Regions from separate parts of the Homo sapiens genome. Here regions 1, 2 and 3 are each linked to region 4. The links are contacts of gene promoters, found by promoter capture Hi-C in blood cells and fetal thymus (Javierre and others, 2016). All regions are on one chromosome and are shown on one strand. The core of a region is centred on a gene start or on the middle of the fragment in contact, and the rest is flanking DNA. Distances in the headings are between cores, read along the strand shown. Region 1 holds the start of LBH (LBH regulator of Wnt signaling pathway). Region 2 overlaps YPEL5 (yippee like 5). Region 3 overlaps LOC124907749 (a long non-coding RNA gene). Region 4 holds the start of EHD3 (EH domain containing 3).

Region 1 (3,894 bases), core at 369-2,868, 1.0 Mb before region 4:
ATGTGCCACACCTGGCTAGTGACACTGAGAAGCTTCCCCACCCTCTGTGCAGGACATCAACAATAACCCCATCCCTGCAGCATCTCCCGTTTAGCCCCTCCATCAGGCAACACCCCCAGAGGAAGAGAATGCGTTTAGCTTGGGAGGTGGGGGAATTTCTCTGGTTGGAGGGGGCAGCCAGGGGCTTGTCATGAAGCTGTGTTTTCATAGGAAGCACACTATTTTAACTCAGGTTGTACATATAAGCATATAAGTGATTGAAAATAGCCCAGTTATTTTTAAATAAATTATTCTCATCAATTCTTATAATTTTTGTTTGGGCTGGTTTTGCGGGGACTGATGAAAATTATGAGGGTCTTCTCTCACGGCTTCCTTCAGGGTCCTACCCCTGTCGAACCTTCGCCATTAATTCTGTCATCCTTTTGCCTGAGATAAGCTATGCGTTTCCACTTTCAAGTACATATATACGGATTCAATACACTCACTGCCTTTCTTTTAAAAAGCTGATTCACTTCAAAGCCAATTTAATTTTGCTTAGTTTTTGATCTCCCCGCGCCCCCTTTCCTCAGCCCCTATACACAGGTAGGTGAGGGTTCTAAAGCCATTTTACAGGCGTGATTGAAGCGGAGGCCACAGAGCGGCAGCGCTGGGTCCCGAGTGAGACTCCCATCATGTGGCTCTGGGGGGCTGCGCAGCTTTGACTGCCTGGACAGACGCCCAGAGCTGCAATTCCTGGGCAGTGTGGGAGGCGTTCGGCTAAAGCTCTTTGTTTCTGCTGTCATGAGCGACTCCTCGGAGAAGACGTGGGAGTCAAGGATGGGGGGCGGCGTGCACACCGCCCGCCCACACCTTCTGCCCCCGCTGCAGACCGGGCGTATGTGTGTCTCCAATGGAAAAATCCTACCCAGGACGACACCACATCCTTGCTCCCACAAATAAAACCTTCCACGGAACTCAGGGCTGCAGACCAGCCCTTCGCAAGCCAACGCGCCCCGTGGGCACTCGGTCCCCCGGCTCCGCGTCTCTGCCACCTTCCCACCGCTTCTTCTTTAACCATGCTCTTGTTTCCCCTCGCTGATCGCAAGGCTGCGGGCGAGGATTCCAGAGAGAGGCCTAGTATGGGGAACAAACGCTTCAGAGGGGTCCGAGGTGGGCTGGGGACAGCCAGTGGATGGGAAGGAGGGCGCTGGCGCCGGGCGGCTGGGGTGGAGGAGTGGCGGGTGCCCTACCCCGGCGCAGAGCAGCCGCCGAGCTGTCATGTCCCGAGCGGCCCCCGCGCCCTCCTTGCGCCCACCTCCGCCGCGCTGGAGTTCGGGGTGTGCGTGGAGGGGGCTGTGAGCGGGAAGCGGCGCGGACGCGGAGTCCGGGCCGGTGCGAGTGAGCGCGTGTGCGCGTGGGAGAGCGGCGGGAGGGGGCCGGGCTCGCAGCCGCAGCGAACCACGGCCCCGGGAGCAGAGCCGAGCGCGCCCCCGAGCCGCCGCCCGCCGGAGCTGCGAGCGCTGAAGCCATTCATGATTTTGGTGACGTTATTCCAGGAGTGGGCGAGGGAGGGCGGGGCCTCTCGGGGCCAAGCCCCGCCCCCGCCCCTATAAATACGGCTTCCCGGGCTCTTTGTGGGGCTGAGTGCTCAGTGGAGAGCGGGGAGTTGTGTCCACCTTGCCGACGTCGCTAGCCGTGGGGCTGTCCTGGGAAGGCGGACGGCGAGCGCCCGGTGTCCGCACTCGGCCGCCTGCCGTGCCCGTCTGCGCCCGTGTCATCCTCACTCGGGACGCAGGGACCGTTTTTAAATCACAGGGGCGTGTGTCAGCCTGCCCTAGGACTTCATGTCTATATATTTCCCCATTCACTGGTGAGTACCCTGCGCCTGCGGCGGGCGTCTGTCTCGCGGCGGTGGCTGCGGGCCCGGGCGCCTGCTTCGTGCCGGCTCCGGGTGCGAGGGCAGCCGGCGGCGCGGGCGCTCAGCGCTAACCCGCCGCCCGAGCCCGTGCAGGAGTCAACGTCAAGGTTGCAAAGGTGGGGGTGGGGGGAGGGGGTGCTGAGAACATCCAGACAAAGGACGTGAACTCGGAGCCCTCACCTAAGTGACGGCCGGAGGGTTTGTATTGGTTGGCGGGGGAGCCAGGGGTCACGTGTGAATCCCCCCCAATGAAACCACCCTATGCGGAGAGCTGCAGGAGGCGCGCGCCCCACTTGGCGCAGGGGGGCTCCTGCTCTTCCCGGGCCCCTCCTCTTTTTCTTTTTGTTTGCATGCAAGTCTCAACGTCGAGGCCGGCAGCAGCGGGGCTGAGCTGGTGCGGCCGCAGGGTTTGCAGAGCTCCGGGGGGGTGGGGGGCGGGAAACGCTCTCCCCACACGTAACCCCACTAAAGCCACAAGCAGCAGGGCACGCGCTGCAGCCTCTCAACCCCTGCCCTCTCCACCGCCCCTAAAAACCGACGCACATTGGTGGGGGCCGGGACTGGGAGGAGCCGCCTTCGCCGTGCTGAAGGGGAAGGAGCCCGGGCCGGGCGCGGGGCGTCGGAGGTTTGCCCCGGACTGGGGATCGGAGCCGGGAGGGATGCAGAGAGAGGCAGGCCCCTGACTGCTGGGACTTCCTTGCTGGCAGTTTCTTCCTTCCTGCTCTGGGTTAGAGGAGAAGCGGCCGGGGGCGAGCGCCGGCAGCCCCGGAGCGCGCTCTCAGGTGCGGACGTGGGGAGCTCGGCCCCGAGTCTCCGGCAGGCGCTGAGCGAAGGGAAAACCGGCGCAAGCCGCGGCGGGGTCCGGCCTGGCCCAAGAAGCGGAAAGTTCATGCTTCTCGCTTCAACTTTTCGGGCCGGCGCCACAGCCCCGAGCGAGGAAGAGCCGCCCCTACGTCAGACTCTTCACCCTGCGTGCGCTCTTCTGGCTCCTTTCTTTGGAGGTCGCCAGCAGCCTTTCCAAGACCCGGGAGGAAACTGCCTTTGCAGGGCCCAGCTCCCGAACCTAAACTTGCCGCAAAGCCCCGCATCTTCTGTTAGTCTCCCTGCCCCCATCCGTCCCAGCCTGGCAGTGTTTAGAGAGGGGACTGAACTTCCCTCTCTCAACAGTTCAAGTTCCCCCACCCCGAGGCTTGTGTACCCTTCTTGTGGGTGCCCCTCCCTTGCCTCTCCCGTGGTGTGTGAGCAGCTAGGTGCCTTATTATAGGTGAAGCTTTGAAGGCTGTTGGAGGCTTTGTGCCTTTGGCTGCTCAAAATTTGCCAAGGTGGGTGTTTGGACCCATTAAGAATATTATGAGAAATTAAGGTTTAAGTTTATTTCATCGATTAGCACTTTGCAGCTTGCAATGCTTTTATGCAGACATTAGCCCTTAACCTAACTGTGAGGTATGCACTATTAGCATCAGAGTAACAGACAAACAGGACACTTGTGGCTCAGAGAAGTTACAGGACCTGTTCAAGATCACACAGTTCTTGAGGGGCAGAGCCTAGAACCTATTGCTTCTGTTTCTAAATCCAGTGTCATTTCTTATCTATGTAGTAACCATACAATTGAAGAGGCATCTGGTACCCCTGTTTCCTTAGATACTGTCCCTCAAAAGACTCCCCCATATTTTTGTTTTAAACCATGTGCACAGGCACGATGGTGGAAAGCATTGGGTGCTGTGTAGCAGGTACCTGTATTTGGTGCTTATGTTCAGCATTATGTGCACGGGATCCTGTATGTGCCCAGAGTTTGTGCAAGGATAAGGGAATATTCGTATCCTGCTTAGAGAGTACAAGGCACTTTCACATGTCAGCCATTGGTGGGCCAGCTTGGCCCCTCTGGAAATTTCCTTTGCAGTCAGAGTCGGGTATCCTTAAGGCTTTTAATCCAGGGGATGTTTTTCAAGCTGTGAGCATGCAGCTGCTGTGTCTGGGGCTAGAGAAAGGGGATGGAT
Region 2 (3,604 bases), core at 801-3,300, 1.1 Mb before region 4:
GCATTTAGAAAACAGTTGAACAGAATGTCAATGTGCATTCATGCAAAAAAACATTTAATCTGCATCTGTTTTAGAAAAGGGGGAAATGAAGCAACTTGTCTAAAAATACTGCTTTACAAAGCATTTCAGCCTTTCCCCCTCAGTTTTGCATTGATTTTTTGACAAGTCTGTAGAGCCTAATAGTTTCCATCAAAGGCCTAGATCTCTTATTTAGCATTTTTTTCAGCTCTTCTCTCAGAAGTTCAGCTGTTGAAACGAAAACTGTACTTTGTACCCTCACATACAAAGGGATCAAATTTGACCTGGTGTTATTTTAGCCCCAAATTTATGACATTACACAATATTAAAATGTAAATGTTTCTTTACCCAAACTACTTCTAGATATTCTAGTATTTGCTTCTGGTGGAATTAAATGACGGTAAAATTGGCTAATTATTTGAATGAATGAATGGATGGATGTTTTGCATGCTCAATTTCTAGGTCCTTTGTCTAGAAAGGAAATTTGCCTCAGTTGAATTAGTGAAATATTTCTGTCGTTGATATTAAAAGTGACTTCTGAGTACAGTTAAGTTCCTCCTATTTGCCACTGGGCTGTTGGTTAGAAGCATAGGTAACTGATTAAGTAGGTATGATACTGCATTTGAAATAAGTGGACACAAACTATCCTTTCTCCACCATGGACTCAATCTGAGAACAACAGCATTCATTTCCATTCATTTCCATACTGGCTTTTGATTATATGCAGATTCCTAGTAGCATGCCTTACCTACAGCACTATGTGCATTTGCTGTCACAATAAAGTATATTTTGTCTTGCATTGATGCAGTACTGCTGCTTATTTTCCACTGATCTTGTCTAGTGATCATCTTAATTTTTATCTCTGAACACATACTTGGTATCTTTGAGTACCTGTAGCTTTCTTCATTTGGCAATGATAGTGATGTCTGACTTGATTAACTGCCTAATTCACACATGAAGACATTGACTTTGCCAGTATTAACTTCTCTGAGATCATTTTGCCTTAGATACTGATAACTATAGTTCAGTATATATAAACAAAAAAATTTCATATTACTAGGTTAACTTTTAGGTAACTGGCAGGTACCAGCAGCAAGCTCCTCTGTGCCTTTTAAAAACTTCCATTTGCAAAAAAAAAAAAAATATATATTGGAAGGTCTACTTTGGATTATTTACAGAAAACCATTGTTATTTTGAGATGGGGATACTAATTAATAGGAATGATTTTTGCTTTGGGGTGGGAGAGTTAAACAAGTAGAGGTGAACTTAGAACTAAGTAGGTTACTGAGGAATATACAGATTTAAGCTTTTTTTCCCCTGACCGAAGAGGAAAATTCTTCCTCTTAGTCTTAGGTGACAGTAACCGTAAGTTGTTTTGATCTTAAAGTGCTTTTATTTAGACTCTCAAGTGAACATTCCTGGTAAAAATAATTTTAGTAATTATGTGAAGATTTAAGTTACAGTTAGGAGTTGTTACTTTGGGATTGGAGGAGAAAAATATCAGTACCATCTGTTTCCTAAATTTGCCTACTCATAAAGTCATATAGGATGTTTAAATCAGAGTCTGGGCCCAAGCCCAGGCTTAAGTCAGTCAACAGGTAATTTTTGGTGGGGCAGAATTAAGAAACTACCAGTTGTAAAATATTCAGACATGTTTATGATGATTCATTTCTAAACATCAGTTATAAAAAAATCTCAGTTTAAACAGATATCCACTAATTGTTCATCTGTTTAACACCTGTTTCCTACCAGGAGCCATATAAATTTACTTCTAATCTGTGTGAGTTGGGAATAAAGCAAGATTAAACTGAAGGATTCTTATCAGGCTAGCACGTTGCACTGATAAGATCTATTATAGGAAGAAAGCAGAACTAAGCAGAAATTAGGGTGGATATTCTAAGTTGGGTGTTAATTGTATGGCTTATTTTAAAATATTGGGCTTCTCAAATTGAAATTTCTGTGGTAAAGCATAAAATACACATTCCAAAGCATCGTTCAGGGTTGTATAATCCTAGGCATCACTTTACATATTTAGGTTTTAAAAATCATCTGCAGCATAACCACCTGGGAGGCTTGTTAAACATGTCAATTATGTTCTCATTCCCTTCCCCAGTACTGAATGGGTCTCGGGTGGAGCCAAAAATCCAGTTTTTTTTTTTTTGTTTTTTTGTTTTTTTGTTTTGCCAAACTCCAAAAGTAACATGTTTCTTTGATACTGTGAAATACGTATTTGGTCTCCTGGTCTTCGTCTCCATTTCCTAGCAATACAATCCCTAAAATCCTTGGAATTTTCAAATGATTATCTTTTTGTATGCTAATATTGACTGATAGCCAGGGTAGAGCTGGTCACGGGAAAGATACAGGCATGATTAAAGGTGAGGTGCTTTCAGCCTCACAGAGCAACCTCCCGGGAGGGGAAAGGGGCTGCAGGTCAAGTTGATTACCGATTGCTATCAGACAGGTGGGATTTGCTAGAAGGGCCCTGGCTTAGAAAGGTGGACAAGAAAAATGATGGAAATGTGATGGGTCAGAAACCTTTGATTCCTGGGTGGCCACATGGCCACCCATGGTATAGAGCTGCAGCTGCACTCAGTTACTACCAGTAAAATTTAGAGATAGATCCAACTCGTAGAGAGGTGATTGACTGGATGCATAAGGAAATGCAAGCTAATAAGAAAAGTGAACTCTACAATCCCTTGGTTATTATCTATAATAGCTAAAATGAAACAGAGTGCTGGGTCCAACTTTGATGCTGCACCAAGCTTAGGTTTCAGGCTGAGCTTCAGCCACTAGCCTCAGAGCTACCCACAAGGGCAAAGTTAAGCAGCAACAACAAAATACCTCTCAGATCTGTGGTTACCAAGAAGGTAGTCAATGTCGGGGAAAGGCAAAACCAAGTAACTTGAAACCAGAAGGTATAATGTACAAGGATTTGTTACATTTCATAGATCCATATCATTAGTTTCCTGAGGAACCTTTACTAAAATGGACTATGAGAGTAATTTAGGGGCAGTATCTTTTGTTTTAAATGCTGCAGAATGGAAGAAATGTTTGGGTTGATGGAGGACCCACAGCTCACTATTGAAAGATTGCAGATGGCTAAACATGATCCAGACACATAGGAGGTTATTCTTGAGGAACAGCTAGTCTGGGGGACTGGATTTAAAAAGCCACTGTAAGATCTGTTTACCCTGAGAATGGGGACTGTCCAACTTCCCCTATAAATGCCAAGCAGAACACCCAAGATAAAGCAGCTAATATACTTCATGTGCAAGCCATGTGGGACTGGCTTTATGATGACCCCGATAGTCACCCACCATGTATGCCCATTACCCGTGTCATGGCCAGTGCTATAGTTAAGAGAGCCCCATTTTCATGGGCACCTCATACAACCTTGCTGCTACAAAACATCTGCTAATACATGAGAATCATTATTCAAAGGGTTATTGAAAATACAGTTGTGGTATGTTACCACCTGATAAAAGCCTATGTCACAAGAGGCTGATAGGCTAAGAAGTATGGGTAAGAAAAAAAAAAACAGATTAATATGGCTTTCCATCTGCTTTAAAAAGTGTCTTAAAATGGA
Region 3 (3,731 bases), core at 779-3,278, 1.0 Mb before region 4:
TGATTCTGTCTCTTAATTCTCTTATAACCTAGCAGTCCACCCTCTCCCATTCTTCACTCCAATTTTTCTCCAACCTATTGGTTTGCTACAGAAACTGGGCCAGTTTTGTGGTAGAATAAGTTAGCCAAAGATTAAAAAGAGGAGGACATGGTGGCACTATCATGGAGGGAGGATGGGTTTGTAGAGTGTCTTAGGATCAAAGCCTGACACTATGTGTCATTGTGTGTCACTGAGCCCCTCAATATATCCACTGGGGTTTGATCGAAAAGGAAGAGCCACTATGAGTGATATAGAATGAAGACATTTGGGGGAATTAGACCTTACACAATTGTGGGAGCTGATTCAACAGTCTGCCCAATGCAGCTGTTGCCATGTCCAGTGTTGGTCCTAAGTCAGTAGAGCCAGCAGTTGGAAAGGAGAGATGAGTGTGAAGAGGGGGAGAGTAAGACTAGATTAGAACCCATGAAGACAAACTGGGACCCTGGAGGACAAACTGGAACTCACATTTGTCTCACTCTCTTTCAGTGATGCAAGTGACCTGCAGGATTCACTGGTGCCCCACAGAGCTGCACAAGCTGGCCCAGGATTTGGAGAAGCAGAAGATTCGACAAGACCAATAAGGGCTGTGGACTCAGCTGCTGTTTCACGCTCACAAGGTGGCCAGGAGACCAGCAATTGTGTGCTTGAGCCCACATCAACCTTCAGAGCATAGAAATGGCTGCTATTTCACTTCCACTTCCAAATCTCATGAACTCCTCTTATGGCCAACCCTAGCCTAGAACAGTACAAGAAAGGGAATTCTGAAAATTCCTTAGTATTTCTGGTTAAAGTGATGTACATAGGCACCAAACTCACGTAAGGATAGCCTCTCCCATAGGAATGTGGCCAAGCTTACACAAGTGTACAGCAGGGTTGGAGGTCTCCCTGGCCCCTTCAGTTCTACTGCTCATGTCTTTCCCTGCCTTTAGGGCTAGCAGCAAATGATGCAAGTGTGTGCTGGTGTGGGTAAAAATCCAGGGCTCCAGGCGGAGGGCTGTCTTGCTATAGACACAAATCTCTTTGAGGATAGACTTGTATTCCCAGCAAAAACCTGGTCCCTGCGGGAAGGGAATGGAGCCAAGAATGCATATAGACATCTGAGCGTCTCCAAACGTGGCTGAGAGCAGGGGTTATTGGAATGTACTTCTTTTTTTTTTTTTTTTTTTTGAGACAGAGTCTTGCACTGTTACCCGGGCTGGAGTGCAATGGCACAATCTTGGCTCACTGCAACCTCCACTTCCTGTGTTCAAGCAATTCTCCTGCCTCAGCCTCCCAAGTAGCTGGGATTACAGGTGCCTACCATTATGTCCAGCTAACTTTTTGTATTTTTAGTGGAGACGGGGTTTCACTGTGTTGGCCAGGCTGGTCTCAAACTCCTGACCTCATAATCTGCCCACCTTGGCCTCCCAAAGTGCTGGGATTACAGGCATCAGCCACCATTCCCGGCCAGGGATGCACTTCTTACAGGCAGCAGAAATAGCCCCTCTCTACCCCAAACTCCGTTTAGAATTTGAGTTCACCACAGATTATGTATAAAAATCAACATTAACAATAATGATAACTAATATTTTGATAGTGATTAGTATTTGCCAGGCACTATTACAAATATTTTATATACACACCACTTTAACTCATGTAACAAATCCATCAGCACTAATGGACTAGGCCCTGCTTGGTTAAAAAAAGAAAAGGTGACAACCACAGACTAATACTATTTAGGTATAAGTTACCACAGATGATTTCAAGATTTGACATTACGTTTTTTAAAAACTTTCATCTTATCAAGAGCTATTTTCATGGAAATGGAGTTTCACTGAACAAGAATATTGTAATCTGCCAACAAGGTCGAAGTACCCTAAGCTTCTCCCGTCAAGAGACGGAGTCTATTTCTCACCCCTTGAGTCTGGGCTGGCCTGTGACTTGCTTTGGAATGCCATGCAAGTGACAGCTCACCAGTTTTGAGCATAGCCCTCAAGAGACTTTATAGCTTCAGTTCTCTCTTAAAATCTAGTTTTGCCACATGGGACAAGCCTAAAAGAAAAGACACTACATGGAGAGAGGCCCCAGATCATCCTGGCTGAGGCCCCAGACAAGTGAGTGTGTCCAGGGAACAACAGCCAAGCTTAGCCCAGACTGAAAGGACCTCCCAGCTAAGCCCAGAATCAGGAACTGAATAAATTATTGTTGTTCTTAGTCACATGATTTTGTTATGCAACCAAAACTGATATGGGGGAGACACTAAAAGCTAGATTTTACGTCTGCCTGATATCCTGGGCTCTTAGTGTTCTTTTCAAAATTCTTTCTGCAAATTCATGGAGTCACCTGTACCCTTCATGATGGGTACTGATTGATGGAGTTTAATTGTGTCCCTTTTATTCAAACAAACATTTCTCCCCTATCAAGTATATTTTTAAATTCTGACAAGAAAACATGGAAAATATAGAAAAGATTAAATAAGGAAACAAATAAAACTATAATTAAATAATCCACAGATAGGGACTGTTAATATTTATGGTTTTTTCTTTCACATATTTTTCCATTATATATTATAAATGTATACATATGCATATCATATTATTCTACATGGGTGTATATATTATACACACGTGTATTATATAATTAGTTTATGTAGTTCTGAATCCCACTTTTCTCTTCACAAGATTCTTATATATTCCCAGCCATTAAAATTCTTGGAAAACATCACTCTAATGGGTATAATTGCCCATCATAAAGATATATCATAATTTATTTAACTGCTTCCCAATTGTTGGACATTATTCTGTCTTCAATTTTTTATTATTATAAGTGGCAATGTCATGAACATCTGTGTACATCTTTGTTCAGATCCTTGAATCTGTCCTCAGGAAGATGGAATTGCTGGGTTAAAGAGCACCAGCATTTAAAGTTTTATCCATAAAAGGAACTACAATCCAAACATCTCGGGAAGAATATCTAAAGGAAGACAATGTTTATCTCTACTCCTGATGTTTAAGCCAGGAACAGGTCTGCTTTTGTTTTACTGGTACTAGGTCGGGAAAGAAATGCTCAGTGAAACAGAAGTCCAGGCATTCAGTTCTGGACGCCAGGGAACCCTAGCCCAGGGCCCCTCTCTACCGAATTGCTCAGACCCTCCGTGACCACTCTTGAGGTGTGTTCTCCTGGCTGGAGAGAGGAGATGCAGGCTGGAGAAGACATGGCGGAGTCCAGGGACCATTCTTGTCCTGGCTCCCGGAACACGCTCCTCTTAGGGGTTTCATTTCCCTCTAGGCTGGGAATGCTGCCAGGGGGCTGAGGAACTGATGTTCCCAAGGCTGGTACATTTGATTTTCACTCTTGGCTAGAATTCAGAGCAGAGAAAAGTAAACTGCATCTGGGCCAAGGTGAGCCTGTCTCCTTGGAGGTCCTTGGGCTAAATGGAGGAGAAGGGTATACAGAGCTGAGAGCCAAGGAAGCCGATGAGGAATTGCACTTGGGTGTGGAGAACAAAACTACGTGGCCATTGATTGACTCAGGAGCTCTGCTGGAGGTGCCCTTGGCTCCCTGCATCTTAATCCTGGCCTGAGAATGGTCAGTCTACTTGAGGGCCAGTAATACGATCTTAAACCTTCATGACTTACGCCTCAGTACCAAGGCCAGTCCCTTCATTTGAAAAGGAAGAAGGAAGAAAACTAGAATCCATTGGCGATTTGCTG
Region 4 (3,479 bases), core at 33-2,532:
AGCCTACTCCTTCTTCATCTGTGGAAGGGAGGGTAGTGGGAGTCATTAGCCTGGGCAGGGAGGAGTGTTTTATCACTACACTGTTTAGAATGGTGCCAATACAAAGCACATCAACTTTCAGCAAGTTTATTATTGGGTTTAAATTCTCTACACACGATGCACTGCTTTTGCCTACACCTGGACAGTGTTCCCACTCACTCTCCTTAGTATGATGCTGGAGATAATATGATCTGCCATGAAGGTTAAATAAAGCAATGTTCACTGAGAACTTAGCCCAGGCCCCTGCACATGCTGAGCATTTTGTTAATGTAACAATGATTAGTAATAGCATTGCTATTGGTTCCCCATCTCTGGCAAAGCCTTTCATGCTTGGCCTCCCTCACTCTCTTTCACCTTCCTAAACCCTACACTCCAGCTATGCCAAACTGTTTACTCTGCCTTGGACACACCAAGTTCCTCAAGCCTTTGCAAATACTCCTTACGCTCCTAGAACAATGGATGTCAATTCATCATTTAGGATCCAGCTTACAGTCATGCTTTCCATGAAGCCTTCCTCAAATTAGCCACACAAAAGGAGTGACTCCTCCCTGTATTCCCATGACCCTCTGCTCATGCCTCCTCTTTAAAGCCTGCCTTCACTGGAGTTCCTGGAAGGGAGAGTCTGTTCAGCACTCATCTCTGTATCCACAGTCACCAAAATTGTAACTGCCCCATAATAAATTCCCAATACTTGCAGGGATTTTGCTTCTTGGCTTGTTTTGTTTTGCTGGAATGAATGAATAAGTAAATGGGAACGATTTTGACTTCACCCTAAGCCTAGCTAAAAGTTTGGGTAGTGACAGTTTTGGTTATTTTGTGTAACCTGATAGTGGATCCCCTTTCTATGCCAAAAAAAAAAAAAATCCCCCAATACTAGAGTACCTGTTTTCCTAGGGAATTGACCTCAGCAACTGAAGGAGAGGCGATTCAAAGCAGGGAGTGTGATGAATAGGTCAACTCTGTCCTCGCAGCCGTCCCTGAGAGGGCGCTGTTCCCAAATCGAAGCCCCAGAGGCGGAGACTGAGACACCGGCACTCTCCCACTGGACTGGGTCAGCATCCCTCTCCCCGCGCGGCCGCAGGTCTAGAGCTGAGCGCCTGCCCACAAACATGGCGGCGCCCTGCGCGGCTTCCCGTCGCCGCAACCGTGGGGCCGGCCCTGCCTTGCCAGTACTAGGGGACTTCCTCTGCGCGCCGGCTTCCTGCCCAGCTGGCATTTAAACCACCGCCTGGGGCTGCAGGATGCTGCTGCGGATGCAGAGCTGTCCGCGGGCTGGGCAGCGTCGCCGTCTCCCCTGAGCCGCCTCGGTCCGGCAGGAGCGGAGCCGAAGCATCCCTTGCTGCACGCAGGGCAGAGCAGGCGAGGGCTGGGGGCCGATCGGGGACCCCGGCTTGGGACCCCGGCATCTGGCAGTTTCCTTGCAGGTTCAACTTTAATTGCCAAGATTTCACCCCTCCTCCTCAAGCCCAGATTATTTATCCTCCCTCCGGCCTGGGCTGCTGGATGCAGCAGCGGCTGGGCTTGGTCCCAGGAGCAGGGAGAGTGCGCTCCCGGCCCTCCTAGCCGCGTGCCCGGGCCATGGTGCGGCTGAGCCCCGCGCTTGGGTGAGGCGGCGGCGCGGCTCGGAGCCCGGCGGACCGGTCCTACGGGACATCTTCCCCTGAGGAGGAGTCTTCCCCTGGGGCTGCGTGCCGGGGGCGAGCGGCGGCCGCGATGTTCAGCTGGCTGGGTACGGACGACCGCCGGAGGAAGGACCCCGAGGTTTTCCAGACGGTGAGTGAGGGGCTCAAGAAACTCTACAAGAGCAAGCTGCTGCCCTTGGAAGAGCATTACCGCTTCCACGAGTTCCACTCGCCCGCCCTGGAGGATGCCGACTTCGACAACAAGCCCATGGTTCTGCTGGTGGGCCAGTACTCCACTGGGAAGACCACCTTCATCAGGTGAGCCGGCCCAGGGTCCTGGCAGCCCACCCCGGAGCCCAGCGCCTAGTCCCTCCGGTCACTCCTGGTGCTCCATCCCAGACAGGGGACCAATGGGAAGCCTTCAGTTGAGGGCTCTGAAGAGATCTGTGTTTGTGCAGGCGTCAAAATCTTACCCCACAATTTTTGCTGGTCCCCCTTCCCATCCTACCCAATACCTGTCCACTCTACTTGGCCCTTGGCTGTGGTGGTCAACCTGAAGTATTCAAGTGTAAAGCCATTCCCAGTCTCCCCATCTTATGGATGATGAAACCGAGGCCCAGGAGGCACAATGGAAGAGCTCCTGGTCTCTGGAGCGCCTTATGTTGGTGGGGATGTCTTACGTCTTCACTTTTTAGCAACACATCATTCACGGGCAAAACCTCTTCCCTTGTTTTTCAAGGGGCTTGGCACTCACATGGGGGCCTCACAGTTGCAGCTGAGTTCTGATGGGTGCGGGCCTGGGAACGGAGGTGGCCTGGGGATGCTACTTGTCCTCCTTTTATCATTTCCTTCTCTAAAGCAGAGCTCCTGTGTATATATCTTGGAGACTCAACAGAAGCTGAGTCCAGAAGCAGAATGCTTTTTTTTTCCCCTTTCTCTTATTTGATCTTAATGGCTTAATAATAATATTAAAGACGCTTAGAGATGGAAGGGATATTGGCATTGTCTCATCCAGTTGCTGAGTTTGCAGGTGAGATAACCGAGGCGCAGAGAAGTTAAATGAATTGTGCAGAGCCATCTAAAGAGTGGGCAGCAGACCTGGGATGTTAAGTCCTAGATGCATGTGAGGAGATGCTTGGCTAAACGCCTGTAACTCTGAGAATGAGTCATCCATTCCCTTCAATTACAGAATCCTTGGGCTGGAGGGAGGCTCAAGAAGTCAATTTGTTCACCCTGCATTCAGAGAAGTCCACCAGAGGCCCTTCTTATCTTTAGAGAACAGGCTTCACTCCAGTCCTCAATCTTCCCAACTTCAAGGCCAGCCATTTTCTTGGCCCCTTTTATAGCCATTCCAAATTGTTGAGAATGCTGTGGCCCTCTGTCTTAAGACTCAGGCTCCCACAGCTTGAGAATGGAGTTTGGTGGCCCCCCAAAGTCAAGTGTGCTCATCTCCTGCAGAGGGTTTGGAAAGCAGGGGTACCCTTATTCCTATTCCTTGGCTGTTTGAGCATCCACAGCATGTGAAATGCTGTGCTTTGTTTGGTGAGGAGTGCAGAAAAGTTAACAGTCTAGTTACTAATTTTCTAGGTACTAATTTTCTCTAACATCCACCTTGTAACGCCAGCCTTCTGGAAGTAGCACCATGCTAATAGGTCATGTCTAAACACAACACCACATTGAGTTTGTCCTTGTGGAGTGCACAGCCTAGGGCTCAGCAGCTTTAAGAGGCCAAGTGATTTCTGAAGGAGTTTGGGAGGTGATGGGCCTGTTGGCTCTTGTATGTTTTATATTGATAGAACTGCAAGAGGCCTTAGAGAT

What was found. Contacts are between HindIII fragments. The CHiCAGO score rates a contact against its expected background, and 5 or more counts as called.
Region 1: the fragment with the promoter of LBH here is called in contact with the fragment with the promoter of EHD3 in region 4 in 1 of 17 cell types (total B cells); the score reaches 5.1 in total B cells.
Region 2: a fragment that was not itself captured here is called in contact with the fragment with the promoter of EHD3 in region 4 in 1 of 17 cell types (total B cells); the score reaches 6.9 in total B cells.
Region 3: a fragment that was not itself captured here is called in contact with the fragment with the promoter of EHD3 in region 4 in 1 of 17 cell types (M0 macrophages); the score reaches 5.8 in M0 macrophages.

What each region holds. Positions count from the first base shown.
Region 1 is chr2:30,229,916-30,233,809 of GRCh38, forward strand. LBH (LBH regulator of Wnt signaling pathway) reads left to right here and starts at 1,619. Exons shown (of 3, transcript NM_030915.4): 1 at 1,619-1,849. The coding sequence starts at 1,824. RefSeq lists enhancers at 285-800, 801-1,315 and silencers at 1,119-1,668, 1,869-1,958, 2,349-2,548, 2,559-2,618. The HindIII fragment of the contact is 3,135 bases long and covers 31-3,165 here.
Region 2 is chr2:30,159,717-30,163,320 of GRCh38, forward strand. YPEL5 (yippee like 5) reads left to right here. Exons shown (of 3, transcript NM_016061.3): 3 at 1-817. Among named protein-coding and RNA genes, the nearest start is that of YPEL5, 15 kb to the left of the region's middle. The HindIII fragment of the contact is 1,456 bases long and covers 1,323-2,778 here.
Region 3 is chr2:30,200,009-30,203,739 of GRCh38, forward strand. It overlaps LOC124907749 (a long non-coding RNA gene), which reads left to right. Exons shown (of 2, transcript XR_007086267.1): 2 at 526-2,232. Among named protein-coding and RNA genes, the nearest start is that of SNORA10B, 14 kb to the left of the region's middle. The HindIII fragment of the contact is 262 bases long and covers 1,898-2,159 here.
Region 4 is chr2:31,232,870-31,236,348 of GRCh38, forward strand. It overlaps EHD3 (EH domain containing 3), which reads left to right and starts at 1,283. Exons shown (of 6, transcript NM_014600.3): 1 at 1,283-1,979. The coding sequence starts at 1,753. It also overlaps a transcript of CAPN14 not described here. The HindIII fragment of the contact is 24,555 bases long and covers 1-3,479 here.